Regions from separate parts of the Homo sapiens genome. Here regions 2 and 3 are each linked to region 1. Evidence: promoter capture Hi-C in human tissues and cell types (Jung and others, 2019). All regions are on one chromosome and are shown on one strand. Each heading gives the region's core, a stretch centred on a gene start or on the middle of the fragment in contact. The rest is flanking DNA. Distances are from core to core; before and after follow the strand shown.

Region 1 (4,378 bases), core at 384-2,883:
TCTTTAGTTTTCTTGTTAAATGTGCTGGGCCATTCTTGCTTTCCTTGCAGCTTTCATCAACAAAAGAAGCAAGGTGGCCAGCCCAGATCCACCCAGATATGGGCTTGCCAGGGCAGGGTGAAATGCAGCTCTGATTTGTTGATGGATAAATTTTGAGGCTAGGAAAGGCCCTCCAAAGAGTAGCCAGAGGAGAGCTTTCCCACCAATTTGATCTATAGAAGGATACTCAGCATCTCTGCCCTCTTTACCTCCCAGTTACATGTCTGTTAAGATTTAGGGGTAGTGAGATTAAGGGACAGAATAAATTTAAAACTATCTATAATTATATACCCCATCGGCCTTCCCATGGGTTTAAATCATCAAACACTTCTTGTTTTTCCCATAGTGTTGCAGCCTTCTCTGAGCCACACTGCTGTATCACTGCTGAACAAGATGATTAGGTATGTGATTGTAGATTGCAGGCATTTGAGGTAGTGCCTTTATTTGGATAGTGCCATTTAATTTGTGATACTATTTCGTATGAAGCCACATGTTTGTTTATAGAGATGTATGGAGCAGTCCACAAAAGATACTCTGTGGCAAAGCTAATAAAGGCTGTTTCCACAGAGCTATCTGAAGGCATGTGGAAGCACAATAGTGACAAACAGAAACCACAATGGGTCAATGTTGAGAGAATCCTGGGATTGGGAGGTGCTTTTTAAAGGCCAGAAGGGAAAGAAAATCAGTTTGGAAGGATTTACTACACAGCAGGTCTTGGTGGATATATTCAGTTCTGGGAACACTTGGCAGTACCAGGGTGCAGTTCATTTACCAGTGTACAAATGATTGAACAGAAAAGCATTCAGGAGTCTCGAATAAATCATTTCCATATCCCACCCGAGCTGGTAAACGGGCGATGAACTGTAGAACAGCCCAGCTGTCCAGAGACAGTGGACAAACCTGGGAGTCCGTTTAGCATGAATGACTGACTCCGGGGAGGGAGGAGGGAGGGCGTTCAGCTGGGGGCTAGGGAAGGGGGTCAAAGTCCAAGCTGCAGAGAGGACAATAAGGCTATGCGTGGGACACAAAGCCGAACCGCAGCAGCAGCTGCCTGGCTCCCGGCGCGCCGCTGAATCAAGCTTCGATTTGAGAAGGGACCTGGCAGCAGCGCGTGCACTAGCTGCTTCCTTCTCCCAGAAGAGCCTGGAAGGGCGCACAGGCTGGTCGCCCTCGGGCGAGGGCAGCCGGCGGCAGGCATCCCTCCCCCTCGCCTCCCTGCCCAGCAGCGCCAGGCAGTGTCCCGACGAGGGCAGGGCGGGGCGCAGGCTGGGGGAGGGCGAGGTGGGGCTGAGCCGCGCGGCGGCGGCTGACGCAGTGCGGGGCGAGGAGCCCGGAGCGCCCTGGCGGGCGTGGAGTCCCCAGCCTGGCCGCTGGGAGGCCGCGTCCCCACCGGAGGGGGCAGGGCGCACTCACCCGGCCGCCCTGAGGCCGCTGGCGGCCTGTTGGCTTCTCCACAGGCGCGCTCGCCGTTCAAGCGCGCTTTGTCCCCGCCCCAGATCCTGGGGGGTGAGCGGTGGAGAAGGGGCGGGCGCCCGCGAGCCGTGAATCACCTCCTCCTCTTGCTGCCTCAGCGCCGCCGCCACCTTTCCATTCAGTCGCCCAACATGGCTGGAGCGCGGCGGAGGTGAGCCGGCCGCCCGCCCGCAGACGCCCCAGCCTACTGCGCCCGAGTCCCGCGGCCCCAGTGGCGCCTCAGCTCTGCGGTGCCGAGGCCCAACGGCTCGATCGCTGCCCGCCGCCAGCATGTTGGGCGCCCCGGACGAGAGCTCCGTGCGGGTGGCTGTCAGGTGAGGACAGTCTGCCGGCGGCGGGCGGCGGGCGGCGGGTTGAGGGCGCGGCAAGGACCTGGCTGTGGCGCGGAGCACCGGCTACCGGGGTGGAGCGACCTGAGGGGCGTCCCGGCCGGGTTCTGCGGCTGAGGAAACTGAGGCAGTGAGTCCCCGCTGGCCTGGCACGCGCGGCCGGGTGCTGGCAGGGCGACTGCGCCGCCCTCACGCCGTCTGTGTTTGCAGGTGGCTGGCGGCTGCGCGGCGCCGGGTCCCTGGGGGGCGTCTTGACTTCTCTGGGGGAAAAGCCCTCGTCACTCCCCTCCGTCCCCTCGCGGGATCAGTCACCTCAGGTCTGGCCGCCTTGGGCTATCGCCTGTCCGGGAGGAGCTGCCTGTGCGCGGGGCTGTGGTGTTCTTTTTTATTAGTTCTAGAATGTCTGTCATACGTGTCCATGCAGCTCCGGCCTTCCCAGGCAGGAGACAAAGCATCTGACTATCAGCGCCGGCGACCGCAGGGCCCGCCGCGCGCCCACTCGGGTTCTGATGTCTGTGCAAATGAGACATCTTTTTCAGCATCACGGGGATCTAGACATGCCCCCGCGTGTGGGTAGAGGAGACAGATCTAGCCTCTTGGGTGTTGGAATGGGAGTGGAATTTAAGGTAAAATCCACTGGGGAGAGGTCTACAGAAGGAGGAAAACTCTTTAGCCAGAGGAAGGGTGAAATGGGTGACTGTGTGAAACATACTGACATTAGGCAGGGTGGATACAATGTAATCGTAACGTTACCCAGGCCAGGGTGTGAGTCTGGAAATACTAGGTACATCCTAGTATTGAAATTATATTTCGGCCAATGACAGGCACGAGTATTCGATGTAATTTCGGCTGTTTTGATACTTATCAAGAAGGAAAGCTCTGATAGTTGCTCATGGAAAATTGCAACATCATCACACTGTGTGAAAAATTAATGAAGCATTCATCCTAGAGTAAGTGCGTGGCTTTCACAGCTCTGAGAGTCTACTGTTAATTCACTTCTCCTTATTTATGCTTTAAGGATTATAAAAATAATCTACACTCCAAGGAATTAGGAACTATTAACAATCTCCCAGTCTTGTAGTCTTTCCAGAAAATTATTCTAAAAATTCTCCCCTCTAAACATTTCTATAGTTACTATTTTAGTGACACATCTTGGGTCAGGCATAGTAATGGCTGTTTCGTATACTTTGTATCTTTAATTAACTTAAATAATAAAATGAGTTTTTAAGTGTTTTTTTTTTTTTTTTTTTTACCACCCAGGGAGGTGACAGTTTTATGACTGGTTAGAATCACCTGTTATAAGGCTTTTGAAGTTTTAATTAGGCCTTCTTCGTTATTCTAGGGCTACTTATCCAATTGTTAGATTAGTCTGTTTCTCCTATTCACTGCTACTACCTCTCTTTTGGCCCTTTAATACCAGTTAATGACTGCACCAGGGTGGAGAAAGGGGAAGGAAAAAGACAGAAAACCCAATAAGAGGCAATTTTGTTAGGAGATCTGATCAAGGAAAGTGAAGAAGGTGCATAAAATATTACTGAAAACAGACAATTTGTCTGTTTTTAGACGTTTGAGATTTTTATATGTGAATTCTCTAGACTATCACAAGGCAGTTTGTTGACCATTCTGTTAAATCCGATGCTTCTTTGCCTGTAGAGCCATGGATGACCCTAAAGTGATGCTGACTGATAAATAACTTGTATTTTGTTTTGGTGTGTATGTTAGGACTTTTTAGGTGAATGAATGTGGGTTTGATTTTTGGGGAAAGGCTTTATAAAAACTTCAACATAACTTAGTAAGCCATATTGTAAAGATTCAATTTGTTGAATTCAGGATTCCTTCCTTCCTTCCTTCTTTCCTTTCTCTTTCTCTCTTCTTTCCTTTCTTCTTTCTTTTTTTTGAGATAGGGTTTTGCTGTGTCACCCAGGCTAGAGTGTCGTGGTGCCATCATAGCTCACTGCAGCCTCAACCTCATGGGCTCAAGCAATCCTCTAATCTCAGCCTGCTGAGTAGCTGAGATCACAGGCATGTGCCACACTGCTTGGCTAATTTTTATACATTTTTGTAGATATGGGGCCTCCCTATGTTTCCCAGAGTGGTCTTGTACTCCTGGGCTCAAGCCGTCCCTCCCAAATTGCTGGGATTACAGGCATTAGCCACTGCGCCTGGATAAATCGGGGATTTCTTTCATTAAATACATTGTTCTCTGAACAGAGCTACCTTGTAAACTTACTTTATATAGGATAAAAATAGCTTATACTCATATAGCACTTTAGTATTTATAAAGTGTTTGGACTTATATTGTTCATTTATAACCATTATTTATTGAAGATATATACCCGTCTCTGTTATCCTGATTTCTGGGCTAAAAGTAGTGATAATTGTTTGACTTATACTGTGTGCCGGGATTAGTGCTGTGTTAAGATGTTTTATCTCATGTAAAGTCTTATTTATTCCTCATAACAATCTGTGACTTAGGTCCTGTTATTATGGCCATTTACAGATGAGGCACAGAAAGATTAAGTAAACCATCCAAAGTT
Region 2 (4,392 bases), core at 185-2,684, 660 kb after region 1:
AGTGTTATTATTGATAAGTAAGGACTTTCACCTGTCATTTTCTTATTTTTTTTCTAGTTGTTTTGTGTTCTCTTCTTTCTTTCCTTCCTTCTTCCATTTGTTGAAGGTGATTTTCTCTGTTGATATGATCTAGTGTTTTGCTTTTCTTTGTTATTTTTTGTATCTCTTGTATTTTCTTGTTTGTGGTTACTAAGAGGCTTGCAGATATTATCTTATAACTCATTATTTCAGCCTTTTAACAACTTAACACTGTTTGCATAAACAAGGAAGTAAGCAAAAAGACAACTCTTAAATTCTATGCTTTAACTTTGTTCCTCTGCTTTTTAACTTTTTGTTGTGTCTATATATGTCTTCTTGTATGTCTCATGGTGCTAATAAAGACATACCTGAGCTTGAGTAAATTATAAAGGAAAGAAGTTTAATTGACTCATAGTTCCACGTGGCTGGGGAGGCCTCACAATCTTAGTGGAAGGTGAATGATTAGCAAAGTCATATTTTACATGGAGAGAATATGTGCAGGGGAACTCCCCTTTATAAAATCATCAGATCTTCTAAGACTTATTCACTATCACAAGAACAGCCTGGGAAATACCTGCCTTCATGATTCAATTACCTCCCACCAGGTCCCTCCACAACATGTGGGAATTATGGGAGCTATAATTCAAGATGAGATTTGGGTGGGGACACAGCCAAACCATATCATGTTTTTTTTTTTTATTGGTTAATTTTTTAGTCTTTCTACTTAAGATTATTTTACACACCACAGTTACACAGTTATAGTGTTATAATATTCTGTGTACTTGCTACTATCAGTGAGTCAGTGAGTTTTGTACCTTCAGATGATTTCTTATTGCTCCTTAATGGGTCCTTTTTTTTTTTTTTTTCAGAGACAGAGTCTCACTCTGTCATCCAGGCTGGAGTGCAGTGGCACGATCTCTGCAACCTCCTCCTCCTGGGTTCAAGCGATTATCTTGCCTCAGCCTTCTGAATAGCTGGAACTACAGGCACGTGCCATCGCACCCAGCTAATTTTTGTATTTTTAGTAGAGACGGGGTTTCACCATGTTGGCCAGGCTGGTCTCAAACACCTGACCTCAGGTGATCTGCCCACCTCAGCCTCCCAAAGTGCTGGAATTATAGACGTGAGCCACCGCACCAGGCAAGGTCCTTTTCTTTCTGATTTGAGATATTCTCTTTAGCATTTCTCATAGGAGAGGTCTTGTGTTGATGAAATCCCTAAGATTTTGTTTGTCTGAGAAATTCTTTATGTCTTATTCATGTTTGAAGGATACTTTCACCAGGTATATTATTCCAGGGTAAAAAGTTTTTTTTTTCCTTCAGCATTTTATATATGTCATGCCACTCTTTTGTGTCCTGGAAAGATTTCACTGAAAAGTCTGCTGCCGGACATATTGGAGCCACTTTGTGTGGTGTTTGTTTCTTTCTCTTGCTGCTTTTGGGATTCTTCCTTTATCCTTAACCTTTGGGAGTTTGATTACTACATGCCTTGAGGTAGTCTTCTTTGGGTTAAATCTGTTTGGTGTAGTATAACTTTTTTATCCTTGGGTATTGGTATCTTTCTCTAGGTCTGGGAAGTTCTCAGTTATTATCTCTTTGAATAAACTTTCTACTCCTCCTGTCTCTTTTTTGCCTCCTTTTTAAAAGGCCAGTAGCTTTTAGATTTGCCCTTTGGGGGCTTTTTTCTAGATCCTGTAGGCATGCTTTTTTGTTTTTCATTCTTTTTTCTTTTGTCTTCTCTGAATGTCCGTTTTCAAATAGCTTGTCTTCAAGCTCACTAATTCTTTATTCTGCATGATCAACTCTGCCATTAAAAGACTGATGCATTCTTCAGTATGCCAATTGTATTTTTAGCTCCAGAATTTTTGTTTGATGCTTTTAAATTATTTTAATTTTTTGTTACATTTATTTGATAGAATTCTGAATTACTTTCTGTGTCATCTTCAATTTGAGTTCCCTCAAAACAGCTATTTTTACTTCTCTGTCTGTATGCTCACATATCTCTGTTTCTCCAGGCTTGGTTCCTGGTGCTTTATTTAGTTCATTTGTTAAGGTCATGTTTTCCTAATGGTCTTGATACTTGTAGATGTTCATTGAACATTGAAGCATTGAAGAGTTAGGTATTTATTTTAGTCTTCACTGTCTGGGCTTGTTGGTACCCATTCTTCTTGGCAAGACTTTCCAGATATTTCAGAAAACTCGAGTGTTGTGATCTAAACTGTATCTACTTTAGGGGCCAAAGCCCACCAATGCTGTGGTTCTTGCAGACTAGTAGAGATACTGCCTTGATAGTCTTGGACAAAATCTGTAAGAGTTCTTTGGATTACCTGGCAGAGACTCTTGTTCTATTTCCTTACTTTCTCCCAAACAAACAGGGTCTCTCTTTCTTTGTTCTGAGCCACCTGAAGCTTGGGATGCGGTGACACAAGCCTGTCTTTGGCTATCATCACTAGGACTGTGTGACTGTAGTAAGACTAGTTTAAATGCTCCCTCTGTGGGTGGGCATCAGCTGAGTTTGGTTTGGTTTTACTTTCTGCTATAACAGGGCAGCACTGAGTTCAATACCTCACCATTGCTGCACTCCCCTCTCCCCAGCACACGGAAATGTTCTCAGCACCACAGTGTAGCTGCAAGGGGATTAGGGAGGGGTGACACTGGTGATTCAAGACTGATTTTCTTAGTTCTTCAGTGCCTCTTTTGATGATATGAAGTTAAAGCCAGGTACTGTGAGTGCTCATCTGATTTTCAGTTCTTATGAAGATGCTTTGTGTGTGTGTATAGATAGTTGTTAAAATATAGATAGTTGTCTTTGCAGGAGGGATGATCAATGGAGCCCTCTATTTCATCATCTTGCTCCGCCTTCCACCAGTCTTATCTATGTCCTAAATTTTGTGAAGGATTACTCATCTCTAATAATCTCTTGAGATCATGTTTAACTGTAATGTGGATGAGTTTTATTATTCTATGTCTCTCAAAATGTAAGAATACAGTTAAAAGAAGCAATCTTTAAAATTGATCTTTTTTGGTAACTTTCTTTTCTGATATAATTTCAACTGCATGTAAAAGTTGCGAGAGTAGTCAAGGTGGGGTGGCTCATGCCTGCAATTCCTGCACTTTGGGAGGTCAATTCTGGAGGATTGCTTGAGCCCAGTAGTTTGAGAACAGCTTAGGCAACATAGTGAGACCCTGTCTAAAAAAATGAAAAAACGTTAGCTGAGCATGGTGGCACATATGTGTATTCCTAGCTACTTGGAAGGCTGAGATGGGAAGATTGCTTGAGTCCAGGAATTTGAGGCTTAAGTGAGCTCTGATCACTCCACTGCACTCCAAACTGGGTGACAAAGTGAGACCCTGTCTCAAAAAAAAAACAAAACAAAAACAAAACAAAAAATGTAGTTCAGAACTCCTGTTTACTTTAATCAGAAGCTAACTTTATTCTATTCACTTTCTTACCCTCTTTCTCATTCTCTTTCTGTTTCATATTCTAGGTCTTTCTTTCTGAGTCATTTGAGAGTAAGTTGGAGACATTGTTGGAAAAATTATGCCCTCTTTCCTCTAAATACTTGAGAGTGAATTTCTTAATAAGAATATTCTTTTACACAACCACAATATGATGATCAAAATCAGGAAACTTCACAATGATACATATTATCTAATCTATGCTTCACTCACATTTCAACAGTTGTACCAATAATGTCATTATAGGTATATTTTCCTCTTCTAAAATTTAATTAAGAATCATAATTGAGATTAGTTGTTTTAATTCTAGTCTCTTTTAACGTGAAATCGTTTCTTAGCCTTTGTCTTTTATTGACCTTGCATTGTTTCAATAAACTTTGTATTTTAGAATAGTTTTATGTTTATAGAAAAGTTACAATAGTACAGAAAATTCCTGTATTCCTGTCACACCAGTTTCTTCTAACATTAACATCTTGTGTTACCATGGTATTTAATACATTTGTCACAACTAGAAAGACAACAGTGGTACATATATTACTATTAGCTAAATTTCAAACTTTACTTGAATTTCACTCATTTTTCACTAATGTTCTTTTTATACCAGAATTCATTCAGAATTCATTTCAGGATGTACACTTTCTTTTGATCTGATATGTTACAATTTCTTAGTCTTTCCTTGTTTTGTATGACCTTGATAGTTTTGAGGAAGTATTAGATTTTTTGTAGAATGTCCCTAAATTTGCATTTGTGTGATGTTTTTCTCATGGTTAGATTGGAGTTAAGGATTTGGGTAGAAGGCCACAGGAGTGAAGTGTCTTTCTCCTTACATCTTATCAGGAATACATATTAATATGACTTATCACTGGTGATATTAACCTTGATCACCTTGCCAAGGGTGTTTACCATGAAATTGTTC
Region 3 (4,445 bases), core at 1,820-4,319, 700 kb before region 1:
AGTGAAGTTTTTAAATTATATTCCCCCATATCTTGAGATTTGATCTTGTGTTAAATCAGTTGCACATATTAGACATTACTTTGTCCTTTTCACTTCTCCTTAGCACATATGGGCTATATAATCTTTATAAAGGTTAAAGAAATATATTGTAATATGTTATAACACAATCAAGATACATCTGAAACAACATAGTGCAGGCACTATTTCCGATGTTCAACATCATGCTGGAGTAAAACTTAGAGACTCTTGGAAAAAAGAAATACTTAAATAATGTCACCAGTGTAATGTGCTACATTGTAATGGTGTTATGCTTATTACATGTGTTATCTAGTAATGCACAAAAAGCCTAATGGATTTGCTCATATTTTCCTCATGTGCAAATGAAAACACTGAGTCTCAGAGAGATTAAATAAATTGCCAAATGTCATGTCAAGCGATTTTGATCCTGGTATTTCTAATATAAAAGCCCATGTTTTAATTTATTAACTGTTTGACATATAACAATAATAGATCATTACATGTTAATATAAATAACCTATGTATGAAGACTAATTATATTTTTACTTCTGCATTCAATCAACTGCAACATGTCATTTTGGTTGATGTGTACAGAAAATACTCAACATCTCGCAGATATTGGGTTGGAAAACAGAGGACATTTTTATATCTGTTTCAGATAAATGTATATATTTTTCTTTGATAGTACACCAAAATTTGACAAGTGACTATTTCTTAAAGGGTAGTTGCAGCATGAAATCCAAAATAACATCAATAAACTTTTCATTCTCTGTTACACTAAAATTCATTGGTTTTATCTTACACAAAGTGTGGATGATTTTGTAACATCATGTGTTGGTCATTTAGAAAACATTATTCCACTGGGTTATGCAGATTTTCTAAATGCTGACACATTTCATTTTATAATTTCAAAAATGAACATTTATTAATGTCACCAATATCATCAAAATGTTTGAACTACTGGGACGCATCAAGTTCATTCTGGTAGACACACATTTTTCAACATGTAACTCTTCCTTGAAAACTCAAATTTTATCATTGACAACAAATGCGGTCAGTTGTTTTCCTTGAATTATCAAACTCACTTTGCTCATTTTTGAGAAAATATTTGCCAATTATCCAAGTCTGAATAGACATGGTTTCTTTGTCAATGTTCGTTCTTTTAATGGTGTTTTCTGAAGAAAAGTGTAGTTCATTTGCAACTCACTGGCACAAATGCTTTTCTTCCAGACAACCATCATAGTTGAGTAAGCAGCAGAAGTGCCTAATGCATACTTTCCATTTTATCACGCAGAATATTAGCAGAACATTTTCTCAAGGGTTGAGATTTAATAACACAAATAATTGTAACTACTTCATCAATGATATACTTAAGTGAAACAGGCATGCAATAAAATGTTTTTGAATAAATGAATAAACTGCCTTGTATTAGGCCCACCAAGGTGAATTTGAAGGTATATATTTGCCTCATGGAAACAGAACTAACACAGTGTTTCATAAATGAAAGTTCACAGATAGATCACATTAATTTAACTCAGAATACTTTATTGAAATGTAGAACTGAGGCCCCATTCCCAAATAATCGGATTTGGTCCATCTAGGGTGAAAAGAGAGACAATGCATATTAAAATACGCTCCAGATAATTTTGAAGAACTGTCAGTTTTGGGGACTGCCTGCTAATGGGACTGTAGTTACAGAGTTTCTTTGGGCAATGATGAAAATTCTCTCAAACTTTATCAAAGGCCAAAAAATGACTGGCTAATATTACTAATTAGAATTCTACTATAATCCCATAGTACAAGTTTATAGTTTTTAAATCTCAAGTGTGTCAAATGTATATTCTTGCCAAGCGTGCTACCCTCCACGATAACAAGGAGAGACTGCTTCCAAGGACAGGGATCAAGTGAGTCTCTGAGTTAAATCCTGTCCTTCCTTTCATATTCTCCTTGATTAACTTACAAAATAATTACATTCTTTTAAAGTGTGTCCTCATTAATTACAGTTTTTTTGACATAATTTAAAAGAATTATTTTCTTAAGGTATGCCAACAGAGGGTAATAGAGGTGGGCTGGGACATTTATTCTTCTCTGATCTTTCTCTGATGCACCCAAAGGCTATTTAATGCACAACTGCCCTCTCATTGCAACATCAAAGCATGTAATTCACTATTTAGGTTTTACTTTCACAGTAGAGAAATTGTCCAGACTAAGCATATTAAATCGTGTTGCAAATGACTTTTTTTTGTGAGGTAAAATATAAATAACACAAATTTACCATTTAAAAAATTTTTAAGTATAGAGTCCAATGGCATTAAGTACATTTATATCATTGTGTAACTATCATAACAAATGACTTTTATATAAGTAAGTCAATGGAAAATTCAAGTATATCATATCTACAAAGTATCTTCAATTATTAAAGTAAAACCATAGTTTTAATAAAAAACATTATCAAAAGACTTCATATAAACTAATAATCCTATTGCTAAATTCCTGACATTGTTATTTATAGGACTGTCTTTTAAAATATATTTACATTTGAATTTTTTAATAACCCAAAGATTTTCATCCAGATTTCATATTAAAAATAAATTCATTGATCCATCATGATACAGATTGCATATAAGTATATTAAATGACAGACTTTTTATCCTAGTTTCATTTTAAAAACAAACTTTCCTATCAATCACGGGCAGATGTTGATAAGGTAATAGCAGCTGTGGCAGAGAATACATTTTTATTAAGGAAAAATGACAATGTATGTCTTTAATGGGTAAGATTATTAATAGCTCTTTGCAAGTATCAGACAGAAGTTTTTATGAGTATTTTAAGCAAAAGCTTTAATAACCGATAACTCATTCACTGTGTTTCTTATTGGGGTACCAGCTGCTACTGTTCCTTCTCTCTTCACAAGAATTCAAATTCCAAGGCTATGTGTACCTGACAATACCAGACAGGTCAAAACATAGCCACCAACTTGACTAAGAGAATTAACCATTTAAGGCAAAATATCACGAGGTTTTCCCCTCTTTCCACATCCTTCCTTCTTTATGCCCTCTTCTTAAGCATTGCTGTTTCCCATGTATCCAACTTCCTACTAAACCCATATAATTGGACAATACATCTCAATACAGTTACAAAACCCAACTCATTATTTCCTCCCCAACCTTCCCCACAATGGGTGGGTGTTTTTGATCTCAGTGAAGGTCACCACCCCTGACCAGTCTCTCTCCCCATGCAGTGCCTCAGCTCCAGAACTAGTTTACCACAATGGACTCTAATGAGTTTTCCTGTCACTCAATTCTCTTCTCTACACTACTAGAGTTATCTTTCTAGTATTTGAATCTGATTATGTTTCTCCTTTACTTAAAAATCCATCAGTAAGAAAACAAGGAGCAGAAACTTTAAACATTCCTAAATACCCTCATACTACTTGCTTCCCACTTTCCACTACACCCTCCATTCCCATTGTTCCCAATAATCATCCTTCTCTCCATTCAAACAGAATTGACTGAATTCTCCCATGGATAAAGCAGTTTTCTTTTTCTTATAACACGCTTCACATTGTCTCTTCTTCCATTAAAAGTAAGCTGAAACATCACTTCCCCCATAAAGTGTTCTTTGATCTTACCCCACCTCACCTCTCCAGCCATAGCCCTAGGCCAATTTAGGCATCCCCTGTTTGTTCACCTAAAGCTGTCTCTACACACCTCTTCCCATCAGAGTACCTCACAATCCTAGATTTACTTTTATTTCCTCTACTAGATTGTTGACTTTTGAGAGAAAGGGATGTCTTACTTTCCTCTGAGGTACTAGAACCAAACACAGTATTGGCTGCAGTAGCAAGCAATAAAAGTTTGTTGAATGGATGAATAGCTGAATGAATTTAATCAACTAAAATGTTTAGATTTAAATATATAGCCAACCATACTATAACATGAGAATCCAGAATTATTGTCCCACTATTCAAAATGCTCCTCTATAAATCCAGTCTACTAAATGTTTATGTTTCATTTTGGTTAATTCTTAGACAAGAGGGTTTAGTGCACTACAGAAACCATCTCATTAGATTTTCATATAGTTTTATTTTTCCTCATTTATGTAATGTATTACATATATATGTATACTCTAGTGAAAATTTTTTTGATCTTGACTTACACATTCAGTTGGTAGACATTTGTGTGGGCATGAATATAAACATGTCTAGTCACGAGAATATCCTGATTCAAATAGGGAAGCAAAAGATGACACGCTCTCAGACAGGAAGTGACTGTCAGCATCCTTTAAAAAGAAACAACAGGCTGTGGTTCGTTTATTTCCTTGCTTATTTGTGACTTGCCCTCAGTGCCTGATGATGCTTGGTACAAAGAACTGAGTAAAACTATCTTTTATATTTTCTATTTATATAGCAATTTACATTTAAAAGC

Evidence for each region. Contacts are between HindIII fragments. The study calls those that stand out against the background at their distance.
Region 2: a fragment that was not itself captured here is called in contact with the fragment with the promoter of KIF21A in region 1 in 1 of the 25 tissues and cell types used here (lymphoblastoid cells).
Region 3: a contact is called between a fragment that was not itself captured here and the fragment with the promoter of KIF21A in region 1, in 1 of the 25 tissues and cell types used here (lymphoblastoid cells).

What each region holds. Positions count from the first base shown.
Region 1 is chr12:39,440,375-39,444,752 of GRCh38, reverse strand. It overlaps KIF21A (kinesin family member 21A), which reads left to right and starts at 1,633. Exons shown (of 38, transcript NM_001173464.2): 1 at 1,633-1,826. The coding sequence starts at 1,783. RefSeq lists enhancers at 963-1,022, 1,304-1,804, 2,623-2,692 and a silencer at 1,103-2,002. The HindIII fragment of the contact is 12,215 bases long and covers 1-4,378 here.
Region 2 is chr12:38,781,682-38,786,073 of GRCh38, reverse strand. The region is part of intron 6 of CPNE8 (copine 8); the gene reads left to right. Among named protein-coding and RNA genes, the nearest start is that of CPNE8, 120 kb to the left of the region's middle. The HindIII fragment of the contact is 6,233 bases long and covers 1-4,392 here.
Region 3 is chr12:40,137,282-40,141,726 of GRCh38, reverse strand. No RefSeq gene overlaps it. Among named protein-coding and RNA genes, the nearest start is that of LINC02471, 17 kb to the left of the region's middle. The HindIII fragment of the contact is 6,367 bases long and covers 1-4,445 here.